Linked DNA regions of Homo sapiens: region 1 is linked to region 2. The links are contacts of gene promoters, found by promoter capture Hi-C in human tissues and cell types (Jung and others, 2019). All regions are on one chromosome and are shown on one strand. The core of a region is centred on a gene start or on the middle of the fragment in contact, and the rest is flanking DNA. Distances in the headings are between cores, read along the strand shown.

Region 1 (6,758 bases), core at 686-3,185, 520 kb after region 2:
TCCCTGTGTGTGTCTGTCACTGTCATTGTGGAAAATAAAAGGTCCTGAAAGGACAGTCTCAGGTCCTGGTCCTGGTCTTAGATGTGACTTATGATGACTTCAAATCCATAAGACACAGATGCAGTGGGTAAATTGAGGCAGCCTCTTGTTTCTTAGCCAAAGAACTTGTTCAAGAAGTTTTCTTAGCAATGGGCTTCCAATTATCAAACCTGGATGATATAGAATTGTGGTGGAAAGGGTGGTAGATAGGTGGGTGGATAGATGGGTGGGTGAATTGATGGATGGATGGGTGAGCGGATGGATGGATGGATGGATGGATGGATAAATGGATGGATGGATGGATGATCGATGGATGGGTAGGTGGGTGAATGGATGGAGGTTGGAATGGATGGATGGATGGATGAGTGAATATGTAGGTGAGTGGAAGGATGTGTGGGATGGATGGGTGGATGAGTGGATGGGAAGGTGGTGTGTGAATGGATGAATGGATGGTTGAGATGGATGGATGATTAGGATGGATGGATGGATGGACGGATGAAAGGATGAGTGGGTAGAGGAAAGGATGAATGGATGGGTGAGTGGGGGATGTGGAGACATGAGGATGAATGTAGACGTATGAATAAGTAGGTGGATGAATGAAGAGCAGGTGGGTAGATGGAAGGGTGGATGAACAGTTGGATGGAGGAATGAATGGATCCTCAAATAGCACTTTCTTTGGCTAAGGTGTTGTAACCTTGAATCATGGAGAATGATTGCCAGGCACCCTCCACTCTGTGAGTCTCTGGTTCTCTGCCATGACCCCCAGGGCCATAGAGCAGTGTGGCTTCTCAATCCCCAAATAAGGTGGACAAAGTCCGCACTGGCAGGCCCAGGGAGCAGGAAGTCCGGGTGGGGTGGGAGGCCCTGCTCCCGGAGCTGAAGTCAGTTCCTTCTTTTCTAAACAATGAGGCCTGGCCTGATCTTTGCCGCACCTCCACCCTGCTCCACCCAAGCTCCCTCCACATCTGATGGGGCTCTGGGGCCCTCAGAGCTGGATGCAGGGAGCTGGGGGCTGGAGCAGGAGGGCCAAAAAGAGCAGGACCCACATAGTTTGCAAAAGGCTCAGTCGTGGAAATGCTGCCTTCCCTGCAGCCAAGGCTCCTGGAGCCAGTTTCCCCCAAGCTTCTTTCTGTAGGGAGATAGGAGCTGGGGGTTTGTTGGCCAAGACATGACTTTGGTTTCTTGTTTTCGTCTTTCTTCTTCAAGTCCATAGTTGGAAGGCCCTGCATCCCCTTCTCTCTCCTGTGTCCTCTTCCTTATGGTCATCCTGCTCTGTCCCCCCACTTCCCTTTCCTTGCCCCTCTCTCTGACCCACCATGGCCAGTCTGGCAGAGGAGGAGACTGGAAGAGTAGAGTAGGAAGGAAAACCAAGTCTGCCCTTGCCAGGGCACGGAGGACCAGACTTTCCAACCCAACCGTGGCTCCCAGTTTCAGTGACCAAGCTGGGGCTCTTAGGCCTAAGCAGGGGCTCTCCTCTGCTCCAGCTCTGTCTCCTGCATTGGCAGGAGAGAGCCTCTCCCACAGAGCTGTCCCTGGAACAGAAGGACAAGCTGAAAACCAGAGAATCTCCCCCTCTCGTGCTAAGGGTAGCCAGAGTGTTCCACGGCCCTGGAGACACCATCCACCACCCTCCCAGTGGGCTTCCTGGAAACCCAGAGATGGCTCCAGGGGCTCTGCCCTCCTGGGAAGCCACTTAGAGCCCAAAGAGCGCTTTCCACATGGAAATAAGGGGTCTCTTCTGAGGGTAGGGGTGCTGCAGTACAGAGCAGGGGCAGGGCCGGGAACTGGGGACACAGGCCTGTGTGGACTCAAAATGAACGAGGGCCGTCCTGTGCGTGCTCCACTCCAAATCCCATCTGCTCCCACACTGCTGGCCCAGGGAAAATCTGGGTAGTGACAGTGGCCGTCCCTCACGCCCTCCATGGCCAGGTGCCAGTAGCGTGTTCCACAAGCATCACCTTCGAAACCCTGAAGGAGTCAGGACTGTCGCTGTTCCAGACAAGGAGACTGAGGATGAGTCTCCATTAAGTGGCTTTCCCGCAGACACACAGTAAGTGGCACAAGAGTCAGGAGTTTGAGCCCGGGTCAGCCCAGCTCCAGCCATGGTCGCAGGGGCTGCCTGCAACCCCTGACGAGGGGCACCCCGGGGAGGCCTGGACCCAGCACCTGCAGCCCAACCTGGGCAGAGGCTGATCCAGCAGCTAGGAAGGGCATGGGTCCAGGAGATGGCAGAGCAGGGAACAGAGCGCTGCCGCTCAGGGTACTCCCGGGGAGCTGTGGTTCTCAGTGGAGGCCGCTCCCACACTGACACTCAGGCACCCTTTCACCTGCTGATGCCCAGACACTGCTGAGGCCAACACAACAGACCCACAGCCTGGGTCAGCACGGACAAGGGTGCTTCCTGGCTCCTCCTGACCATTGCTGAATGAATGATGGGTGAATGAATGAATTAACAAATGATGGCTGACTGATGAAAAGCAAGAACACAGATGGAACCAGAGCTTCTGGGGCGCGGAGGCAGGGGCACAACCCCCTCCCGTGCCGGAGTGCGCACACACACACACAGGGGTACACACATGCACGCACAGACACACATGCATACACACACATGCCCACACATGCAAACACACATTCATATACACACACGCCCACACACACAAACACACATTCATATACACACATGCCCACACATGCAAACACACATTCATATACACACGCACGCCCACACATGCAAACACACATTCATATACACACACGCGCAGCAGGCCTCCTTGGTCAAGGCCTCCAGAGCTTTGTCCTTCCTCACGGTTCCAGTGGCCCAGAAGACTCACCATGTTGCCTTGCCCCAGCCCAGGGCCCCAAGTGAGTGTATCAGGATCCCTGAGCCCGCCCCGAAATCCCCAGGTTTCCACCGCTCCCAGCAGGAAGCCGTGCTTCATGCATGAGGCCTCCCTCACCTGTTAATTTCCGCTGATCCTGCCAACCCCCAGGTGAGGGCAGCCATGGGGACCCCAGTGGCCCAGAGCTGGGCCCAGGAAAGGGACCAAAGGCCCAGGGGGCCTTGCTCCTGGAGCCAACTCCACTCAATGCCAGGGCACAGAGGGAAACCAGGCACTGTGGCCAGGCCCCTGGGAAGGGTCATGGGTGCATGCTCAGCAACCCTCGGCCATCATGTGGCTGCAGGCCCAGCCTGTTGCTAGGATTAGTCCCGGATTAGCCCACTGAGGTCCCAGAGGCTCGAGTGTCCTGGTCACCAGTGCTATAGAAACCTGGCCAGAGGCAGGGGGTGGAGACTGGTTCCTCCTTGGTGGGCTCTTCCCTCCAGGCCCAGTCTGAGCCTTACCCTTTCCTGAGCCAGCTCTGGAGTGCCTGGGGCCTGAGCTCCCACCCCCAGCCCTGCGGGAGCCCTTCTCCACAGAGCTCTGCACCTAGGGAAGTTGTAGCTTTCCAGAATCAGCTGTTTTCCAGATCCCGGAATGAAAACGGATGACCGATCATGTTGTGCCTGATGTGGAAAAGCGAAGCGTTTGTTCTCTCCCTTCTCAGATGCTCCTTAATACAGAAAACGTCAGAGCTGGTTCACCCTGCTGCCCCAGGAGCACCCTGGAGCTTCCCTCCCCAGGCCCAGCCCAAGCACCGCCTCCTGAGAACTCTCCTCCCCTCACTGACCCCTGTCCCATCTGTCTCTGCCCTGAAGGAACACCAAGTTGGGGCTGTGGGGCTGGGACCAGGCCTCGGAGCCAGGTAGCAGCCCATTGGGGGACAGCTCAAGAGGCTCCGAGAGCTCCCTGTGACATCTGAGAGGCCAGCAGGACGAAGGCCACAGCCAGCAGCCAGGACCTGACCACTTGCCCAGGCTGGTCTGAGCTCCTGGCCAGGGGCCTCTTGGCAACATGACCTGGCAGGTGCTGTCTGTCCATTATTCCCCTCTCACGGATGTCCCCGGCCTCTGTGGACATGACCGCCTAGCCCTGAAACTCCAAATGTACCTTTCTGCCTCTCCTCTTCTCTGTCAGGTGATGCCATCCTTCCCAGGGGCCTTCTGGGCTCTTCACTCCTCTAGGCCCTCAGCAAAGGCTCTCACTCTGCCCTCAGCACACACCAGGGTGCAACCACCCTCACTCCTCCACCAGTCCCTCCCAGTCACTCCCTTCTGTGTGTATCCCAGCAGGTGCCTCCACTTCTCCTCTTGCACTCTGGTCACTCAGCAGCCACAGGATCCCTTCACTCCTAAGCAGAGACCTCCACTAGCCCCACTTCTCTCCAAGAAAAAGCTGCATCCCCTTCAGGGCTTCCTGATGCCTTCCTGGGCAAGCTCCCCTTGGTTTCTCAGGTGTGTTTCTCAACAACCCATGCTTCCTCCCTATCCACCACTCCTCAGAGACGCCACATCACCTCTCTACAAGCCTTGTACCCGCTGCTCCTGCCATGAGATGCTCTCCCCCAGATGTCCATGTGAGTATGTGGTGGGGGCTAGAAAGGTATGTAGATGGGTAAATGGTTGGCTGGGTAGATGGCTGGATGCGTGGGTGGATGCATGGATCCATGGAAGGAAGGAAGGAAGGAAGGAAGAGAGGGAGGGAGGGCAAGAGGAAAGAAGGAAGGAAGGAAGGAAAGAAGGAAGGAAGAGAAGAAGGGAGGGAGGGAGGATGAATGGGTGCACAGATGGGTGCATGGATGGGTGCATGGATGGGTGCATGGATGGGTGGATGAACAGATGGATGGATGAACAGATGGATGGATGGATAAGTGGATGCATGGATTCATGGAAGTAAGGAAGGAAGGAAGGAAGGAAGGAAGGAAGGAAAGGAAGATGGATGGATGCATGGATGGGTGCATGGATGGATGGATGGATGCATGCATGGATGGAAGGAAGGATGGATGGGTGGATGGATACATGAACAAATGAGTGGGTGGATGGATGGATGGATGAATGGGTGGGTGGATGCATGGATGGGTGGATGCATGGATGGATGGAAGATAGATATATGGATAAATAAGTGGGTGTATGAATAGGTGGGTGAATGGACGGATGAATAGATGCATAGATGGGTGGATGCATGGATGGATGGATGGATAGATAGATAGATACATGGGTGAATGAGTGGATGTATGAATGAGTGGGTGAATGGATGGATGAATAGATGCATAGAGGGGTGGATACATGGATGGGTGGATAGATAGATAAATACATGGATGAATGAGTGGGTGTATGAATGGGTGGATGCATGCATGGATGGATGGATAGATGGATGGATAAATGGATACATGTAGGAGTGAGTGAATAGATGCTTGGATGGATGGATGGAAGAAAGGATGGATGGATAGATGAATACATGGATAATGACTGGGTGTATAAATGGATGGGTGGATGGTGGGTGGATGAATGAATGGATAGATGCCTGGATAAATGGATGGATAGATGCATGGATGGATGAATGGATGGGTGGATGCCCTTTCTCTGAATGCCAGCCAGGAACGTAGCCAAGTGGAAAGGCCCAGGTGGGCAGCTGTCTTCCCAGACCACTCACACTGACCTGAGAACAACTGCTGGGCCCCAGGTGTTGAAAGGGCAAAAAGAGATGTACCCAGCTGGACTGTGCAGGTGCTGGCTGCCCGTTGTTTTGAGCCATGCTCTGATTTGTTCCTCTGTGCCTGCTCTGGGGACTTGGCCACTCTGAGCCATCTGCAGGCTTCCCTGGTGTCCCCTGTACCCATACCACAAGCCAAGTTCCTCCAATGTCACCCTTGATTGCTGTCCCTTGTGTGACTCACACTGGTCCTCCCTGTGTGATCATAGGCTATTCGCCTCTGCCACACACCACACTCATCACCCAGGCTAATCTGGGTGGGAGGCAGACTTGTCCAGCGCTCACAGCTGCTGAGCCTCAGAGCCAGGCCAGACCCAAGGCCAGGACTCCTGAGCTCCCCTCCAACTCTCCGTCCTTACAAGCCTTCCTTGCACCAGCCTTGTCCCCTCTGGTCTAGTTGCATCTATTTCACCCCTGCCAGAAGACGGTGTTCGTTGCCTATGGCTGCAGAATAAATTAGTCCAAAACTTAAAACAATAAAGACTTAAAGTGATGGATATTTATCATCTCAGTTTCTGTGGGTCAGGAGTACAGGAGCAGCTTAGCCTGGTGGTTGTGGCTTGGCTTGGCTGCCACCCCCTGACACCCCAAGCCAAGCCACCAGCCCTGGGCCCCAGCCATCTGAAGGTCCTGCTGGACTGAAGTGTCCCCTTCATGCCTGGCAACCTAGTGTGGCTGTCGGAGGGATGCTCAGTCCTTCCACACAAACCTCTGAGGTTTGCGCATCCTCACAACATGGCAGCCAGCTTTCCCCAGAGGGAGTGAAGGGAGAGAGGTGGGGGAAGAAGAAGGATGCTGCAGTGTCAATTATGACCTGGCCTCAGAAGTCACCCGCCGTCATTCCCACTGTTGGTTACACAAATCCATCCTGTTAATGTGAGGGGGGCCGCACAGTGGCCGAATTCCTGGAAGTGCAGATCTAGGCCCATGGCTACCATGACCTGCAGCTGACATGCTCTTCTTTCTTCCACAAATGACATGAAGTGAGAGAAGCAGTGGGCAAGGTAGCCCCAGACTGACCATCTTCTTGTGGTTCCATTGCCGACACCTGGTGACCTGGCCCAGCCAACACCTCCAGCCCCCTCCTCCTTCCCCACAATAGGCTCAGCTCAGGCCACCCTGAGCGCC
Region 2 (6,761 bases), core at 1,153-3,652:
CAAACAAAACAAAATTAGCTGGGCATGGTGGCTCATGCCTGTAGTCCCAGAAACTCAGGAGGCTGAGGCAGGAGAATAGCTTGAACCCAGGAGGCAGAGGTTGCAGTGAGTGGAGATCACACTACTGCACTCCAGCCTGGGCAACAGAGTGAGACTCCATCTCAGAAAAAAAAAATTGTGGTAAGATACATACGGTAGGATTTCCTGAAGTTATTTATTTATTTATTTATTTATTTATTTATTTATTTATTTTACCATCTGAGTTCTGTAATTAATGTGGCCTTCTCTGGTTGCTGCAATGGGATTGCTGACCTTCCATATACATCCCCTCTGGAATGTCATATTTGCATTCTTCTGGCTTTTTTTGTTTGTTTTTTGTTTTTTTTGAGACGGAATCTTGCTCTGTAGCCCAGGCTGGAGTGCAGTGGCGCGATCTCGGCTCACTGCAGCCTCCGCCTCCCGGGTTCACACCATTCTCCTGCCTCAGTCTCCTGAGTAGCTGGGACTACAGGCGCCTGCCACCATGCCCGGCTAAATTTTTGTATTTTTAGTAGAGAGGGGGGTTTCACCGTGTTAGCCAGGATGGTCTCAATCTCCTGACCTGGTGATCCGCCCCCCTCGGCCTCCCAAAGTGCTGGGATTACAGGCATGAGCCACCGCACCTGGCCGCCGGCATCTTTAATTCAGACTGCCAGCTTCCAGAACCCTGAGAAATACACTTCTGTTGTACATGCCAGTCCATGGTGTTCTGTTACATCAGCCCAAAGAGAATAAGACCGCGTGGTAACAGGCCATGATGACCCCCTAGTGATTGCTTTTGCCTGATCAAGGCAAGGCACCCCCGCCCTGAGCCAGATGCTGAGAGGGTGTGGTAGAGGCTGCACGGCAAGGGGCTGAGCCAGGTGGCTGCTGGTGCTCCTGCCTCTGACCGCCACCATGTATCCAGGATCCCTGCTGGCCAGGGCGCCCACCTGCCTGCTCCGGTTTGGTTCAGGGCCGGTGTGTGTGTGTGTGTGTGTGTGTGTGTGTGTGTGTGTGGTTCCCAGGGGACCCAGTGTAGCCACAGATGCCCCCCACCTGCCTCGAGAGGGAAATAAACATAAATATACCAAGACAGCTATGGGGTGCTGGGGTGAGCGGTTTATTGGATGTTTAAAGGACAGAGATCTGAACTCCTAGTGACTGCAGAGTGAGCAAGCACCCTGGGCTGTCCTGCAGGGCTGTCCGTGCTGGATGTGGTGCCAGCAGGCAGGGCTTGCGGATAGGCATTTGCTGCAGGTGGCTGGGGCGGTGGGGGGCTGGTCTCCAGATGCCTGGAAGGGAGGCCTTGAAAGTCATTCTTCTTGGATGCATGGGCCCATGGCATTTCTTGGTAGAAGGTCAAAGAGAAGTGTTCATGCTTGGCAAGGCAGGAGGGTGGGAGATAGGGTAGTGGGTGGGGAAGGAGAGTCTGGCTCACTGGGTGCCAGGAAAAGGAGGTAAAGGCTGGGCAGGAATGCCTGGCCATGGTAAGAGTCCTGCAAAGCCAGAAATCAGATCTTGCACTGGCAGCACACGGGGACACAGCAACTGGACTGGGAGCAGCAGGGCTTGCAGCAGCTGGATTGGCAACAGGATGACCCACAGCCTGAGGAACAGCAGCAGGGCTTACAGCAACTGCACTGGGAGCAGGATGACCCGCAGCCTCCCTTAGACCCCGCGCAAGAGCCACAACTGGAACAGGAACAGCAACACACGGGCACACCGCAGCCGGAGCCACAGCCCCCACAGCCGGAGCCACAACCCCCCTTGGATCCCCCACAAGAACCGCAGCCCCCCTTGCAGCCTCCACAGGAGCCACAGCCCCCCTTGGAGCCCCCACAAGAACCACAGGCCCCCTTGGAGCACCCACAGGAGCCACAGCCCCCTTTGCCACAGCTGGAGCAGGAACAAGCTGGCACACAGCAGCACATGGGCTTGCAGCAGCAGACAGGCACACAGCAGCTGGAGCCACATCCCCCACAGCCGGAACCACAGCCACCCTTGGATCCCCCACAAGAGCCACAGCCCCCCTTGGAGCCCCCACAGGAGCCACAACCCCCCTTGGATCCCCCACAAGAGCCACAGCCCCCCTTGCAGCCTCCACAGGAGCCACAGCCCCCCTTGGAGCCCCCAGAAGAGCCACAGCCCCCTTTGCCACAGCTGGAGCAGGAACAGGTTGGCACACGGCAGCACACGGGCTTGCAGCAGCAGACGGGCACACAGCAGCTGGAGCCAGAACCTCCACAGCCAGAGCCACAGCCCCCACAGCCGGAGCCACAGCCCCCACAGCCGGAGCCACAGCCCCCACAGCTGGAGCCACAGCCTCCGGAGCAGCCGCAACAGCCCATGGTTCTGGTGGATTGAGGGTGGAGCAGGTAGAGGAGCAGGTGAGAGGGAGGTGCAGGTGTGGAGCTCCCTGAGCCTGGACCCTTTATATCCCTGCCCAGGGTCATGTGTGAGGCTGGGCACACATTTCCTGGTTCCTGTTTGTGCCATTTTTAGGGCCCCTTTTTCTTGTTTCCTCTAGAAATCCGCCCCTTGGTGTATGGGCTGCTCAGTGGGCTGCTGCTCTCTTGCTGAATCTGTGTCCAGACTTAATGGAGGCCCCCAAGGGTCTAGCCTCTCCCTGTTGACTCCAGAGTCACACTGGATTTACAAAAGCATCTATTTTAGGCTGGGCATGGTGGCTCACACCTGTAATCTCAGCACTTTGGGAGGCCTAGGCAGGTGGATCACTTGAGGTGAGGGGTTGGAGACCAGCCTGGCCAAAATGGTGAAATCTCGTGTCTACTAAAAACACAAAAATTAACTGGGTGTGGTGGCTCACATCTGTAATCCCAGCACTTTGGGAGGCCGAGGCAGGTGGATCATTTGAGGTCAGGAGTTGGAGACCAGCCTGCCCAACATGGCAAAACCCCATCTCTACTAAAAATACAAAAATTAGCCAGGCATGGTGGTGCATGCTTGTAACTCCAGCTACTTGGGAGGCTGAGGCAGGAGAATGGCTTGAACCCAGAGGTGAAGGTTGCAGTGAGCAGAGATCACACCACTGCACTCTAGTGTGGGCAACAGAGCGGGACTCTGTCTCAAAAAAAAAAAAAAAGTGATCTATTTTAGTTGAACGATGGTATAAAGAGTAATATATTTAAAAAATGTAAAAAAAAACCCTACTCAACTTGGGAAAAAATGGCATAAATAAATGAAGTCTCTGTTCCTCCATCTCTCCATATTGTTTCTGTCCCACCCTAATAATTTCTTGAATTTGGAATTCACCACTCTCATGAAGGTCCTCACACTCCTACTTAATATGTATGTTCCTTTAAAAATGTTTTGTGGCCAGGCGCGGTGGCTCACACCTGTAATTTCAGCACTTTGGGAGGCTGAGGTGGGCGGATCATTTGAGTCCAGGAGTTTGAGACCAGCCTCACTAACATGGTGAAACCTCGTCTTTACTAAAAATACAAAAATTAACCAGGTATGGTGGCATGTGCCTGTAATCCCAGCTATTCGGGAGGCTGAGGCAGGAGAATCGCTTGAACCTGGGAGGCAGTGGTTGCAGTGAGCTGAAATCACGCCATTGCACTCCAGCCTGGGCAACAGAGTGAGACTCTATCTCAAAAAAAAAAAAAAAAAAAGAAAAGAAAAAAGAAAAAAAAATTTTACATGCTGAAAACTTTATGTAATGGGTATTACACTGTATTTCTCTTTCTGTAAATTGCTTTTGAAAAAAATAGGTGTTAGGCTAAAGAGATTTTCTCTAGGGATACATATGGTTTTAATTTATTTGTTTTCTCTGATTTCTAAATATACATTGACTTATCCATTTACTTGTTGATGGACCTTTTGTTTCCTTTTTGTTGCTATTTCAAGCAAGCTGCAACTTTCTTGCCCAAAACCCCTCCTGCAGGTGTGGGTGCCTGAAAGTCAGGAGGTTCTTGTTACCAAGCTGTCTTCCCAAGGGATCCCCCCAGCCAGCTGCTGTCCAACCAGCATTGCCAGAGAGCTCCTGTTTCCTGGCACCCCCACCAAAACTTGCAACTGTCAACTTACACCCTTCATGTGGGTGTGTAACACAGTGTTACACACTGTGGTTTAATATTCCCTCTTCCTGGTTACTAGCCATGCTGTGCCTCTTTCCATATGGTCACCTGTCATTAGAGTCTCGTTAATTTCACGTCCTTGGCCCACTTTACAAAATTGAGATAGTTATTATTATTAATTTTTGAGATGGAGAGTCTTGCTCTGTCTCCCAGGCTGTAGCGCAATGGTGCGATTTCGGCTCACTGCAACCTCCGCTTTCCATGCTCGAGCAATTCTCCTGCCTCAGCCTCCCGAGTATCTGGGATTACGGGCATGTGCTACCACACCTGGCTAATTTTTGTATTTTTAGTAGAGTCAAGGTTTCACCATGTTGGTCAGGCTGGTCTTGAACTCCTGACCTCAAGTGATCCACCCACCTCGGCCTCCCAGAGTGCTGGGATTACAGGTGTGAGCCACCACACCTGGCCAAGATCATTATTATTTTTATTGGTGTCTGAAGTTCTTTGAATTTTCTGGATTCTTTTATTTTGAGATGGAGTCTTGCTCTGTTGCCAGGCTGGAGTGCAGTGGCATGGTCTCGGCTCACTGCAGCCTCTGACTCCCTGGTTTGAGCAATTCTCCTGCTTCAGTCTCCCCTGGGATTACAGGCACGTGCCACCACACCCAGCTAATTTTTGTATTTTTAGTAGAGACAGGGTTTCACCGTGTTGGCCAGGCTGGTCTCCTGACCTCATGATCCACCTGCCTCAGCCTCCCAAAGTGCTGGGATTACAGGCGAGAGCCACAGCGCCCAGCCTTTTGTTTCTTCTTCTTCTTCTTCTTCTTTTTTTTTTTTTTTTTTTTGAGACAGAGTCTCGCTCTGTTGCGCAGGCTGGAGTGCAGTGGTGTGATCTCGGCTCACTGCAACCTCTGCCTCCGAGTTCAAGCAATTCTCCTGCCTCATCCTCCTGTGTTTCTTCTTAACATAGATGTCATTTATTCTAAGTTTTTCAAATTTATTGGGATGTACTTTTCATAGTTGCCTCTGTTTTTGAAGATGGGATCTTGCTATGTTGTCCAGGCTGGGGTGCAGTGGCCGTTCACAGGCACCATCATAGCTCACTGCAGTCTCGAACTCACGCCTGGCCTCAAGTGGTCCTCAGCCTCTGAAGTAGCTGGGACTACTACAGACTACCACATTTGACTACTACAAATCCCTACCGTGTGCCACCACGCCTGGCTTAGTAGCCTGTTATTTTTAATAGCTGCTAAATTTGTCATTATTTGCTTTCTTTTCTTTCTTTTTTTTTTATGGCAGGGTCTCACTCTGTCACCCAGGCTGGAGTACAGTGGTGTGATCTCGGCTCACCACAACCTCTGCCTCCCGGGTTCAAGTAATTCTCCTGCCTTAGCCTCCCGAGTAGCTGGGATTATAGGCACCTGCTATCATGCCTGGCTAATTTTTGTATTTTTAGTAGAGATAGGGTTTTGCCATGTTGGCCAGCCTGGTCTCGAACTCCTGGCTTCAGGTGATCCACCTGCCTTGGCCTCCCACGGTGCTGGGATTACAGGCGTGAGCCACCGTGCCCAGCCTATTTGCCGTTTTTCATCCCTGCTTCAGGTTATACATGCTCTTTCTCCTGCCCGACCCTTTTTTTCCTCATTGGTTTTGCTAAATATTGTTGATTTTCTTTGTCTTTTGAAAGACCAGCTTTTGATTTTGTTGATTCTGTTTGTTGTATGTGTTAAACATTTTTATTTAGTTCTGCTCATATCTTTATTTTCTCCATTGTTCTTTTTGCACTTTCTAAACATGCGGGTGCTGGGGTGCGTGACTGTCTGCTGGACGTGGACTGTCAGGCCAGGAGGCGTGCGATAGAGAGTCACTGCCATCTGGGCTTTCTATCTGTCCCTCCTTCCTTCCCTCCCTCCCTCCCTCCCTTTTCTGCAGTCATTTTCATTCAGCTTCTTTCAGCCTTTCTGCAAGCTTCTGGGTGAGGTAACTACTGTGGGGCTGCTTTAAAAGCTCCCATATTTTGGGGTCTCTGTTCTTTACCCGATGAGCTAAGCCTGTGGGGTTTGCTGTGATTTCTGACATACGTGGGCTGCTTCCCACCACCCTTTGCATTTCACCATCCTGTGGTAGTGCTTCCTTCCCCTCTTCTTTTAGATGGAGTTTTTAAGGTTCTGTTTTTGTTTTTATTTTGTTTTGCTTTGACTGACTTAGAAGTTATATACACTATTCCTGTTTTTAGCAGCAACCTTATGCATTTCATGTGTATTTTTAAACAAATGTTGTCTACACGTGATGGCCCTCTATTCCTCCCCTGCTGAGAGTTGTGCAGGGAGCTGGGGACAGCTTCTTCCCCTGCCCAGCCCCTCCGGTGTCAGCTGTGGGAGTTTCTCCAGCGTCTTAGCTCCTCTCACATTGCTCATCATTGTTTATTTATAGTCAGTATTTGCTTAAACTTGCCACACATCCACCAACAACTCTAGGCGTGGTTCTTGCTTACACCATACTTCTTCCTTCCGGGCTCAGCTTCCTTCTTCCTGAAAACATCCTCCGGAAGTTCCCTCACAAGCATTCATCAGTAGACAGTCTGCATTTTTACATGGAGGTGGCTTGTTTCCTGCTCCTCCTGAGCATTCATCAGTAGACAGCCTGCATTTTCACATGGAGGTGGCTTGTTTCCTGCTCCTCCCGAGCATTCATCAGTAGA

Evidence for each region. Contacts are between HindIII fragments. The study calls those that stand out against the background at their distance.
Region 1: a fragment that was not itself captured here is called in contact with the fragment with the promoter of KRTAP5-1 in region 2 in 2 of the 25 tissues and cell types used here (dorsolateral prefrontal cortex and lymphoblastoid cells).

Annotation. Positions count from the first base shown.
Region 1 is chr11:2,101,885-2,108,642 of GRCh38, forward strand. No RefSeq gene overlaps it. Among named protein-coding and RNA genes, the nearest start is that of MIR483, 29 kb to the right of the region's middle. The HindIII fragment of the contact is 7,700 bases long and covers 1-5,785 here.
Region 2 is chr11:1,582,881-1,589,641 of GRCh38, forward strand. KRTAP5-1 (keratin associated protein 5-1) reads right to left here and starts at 2,403. Exons shown (of 1, transcript NM_001005922.1): 1 at 1,462-2,403. The coding sequence starts at 2,369. The coding sequence ends at 1,533. All of the region lies in intron 1 of KRTAP5-AS1 (KRTAP5-1/KRTAP5-2 antisense RNA 1), which reads left to right. The HindIII fragment of the contact is 15,838 bases long and covers 1-6,761 here.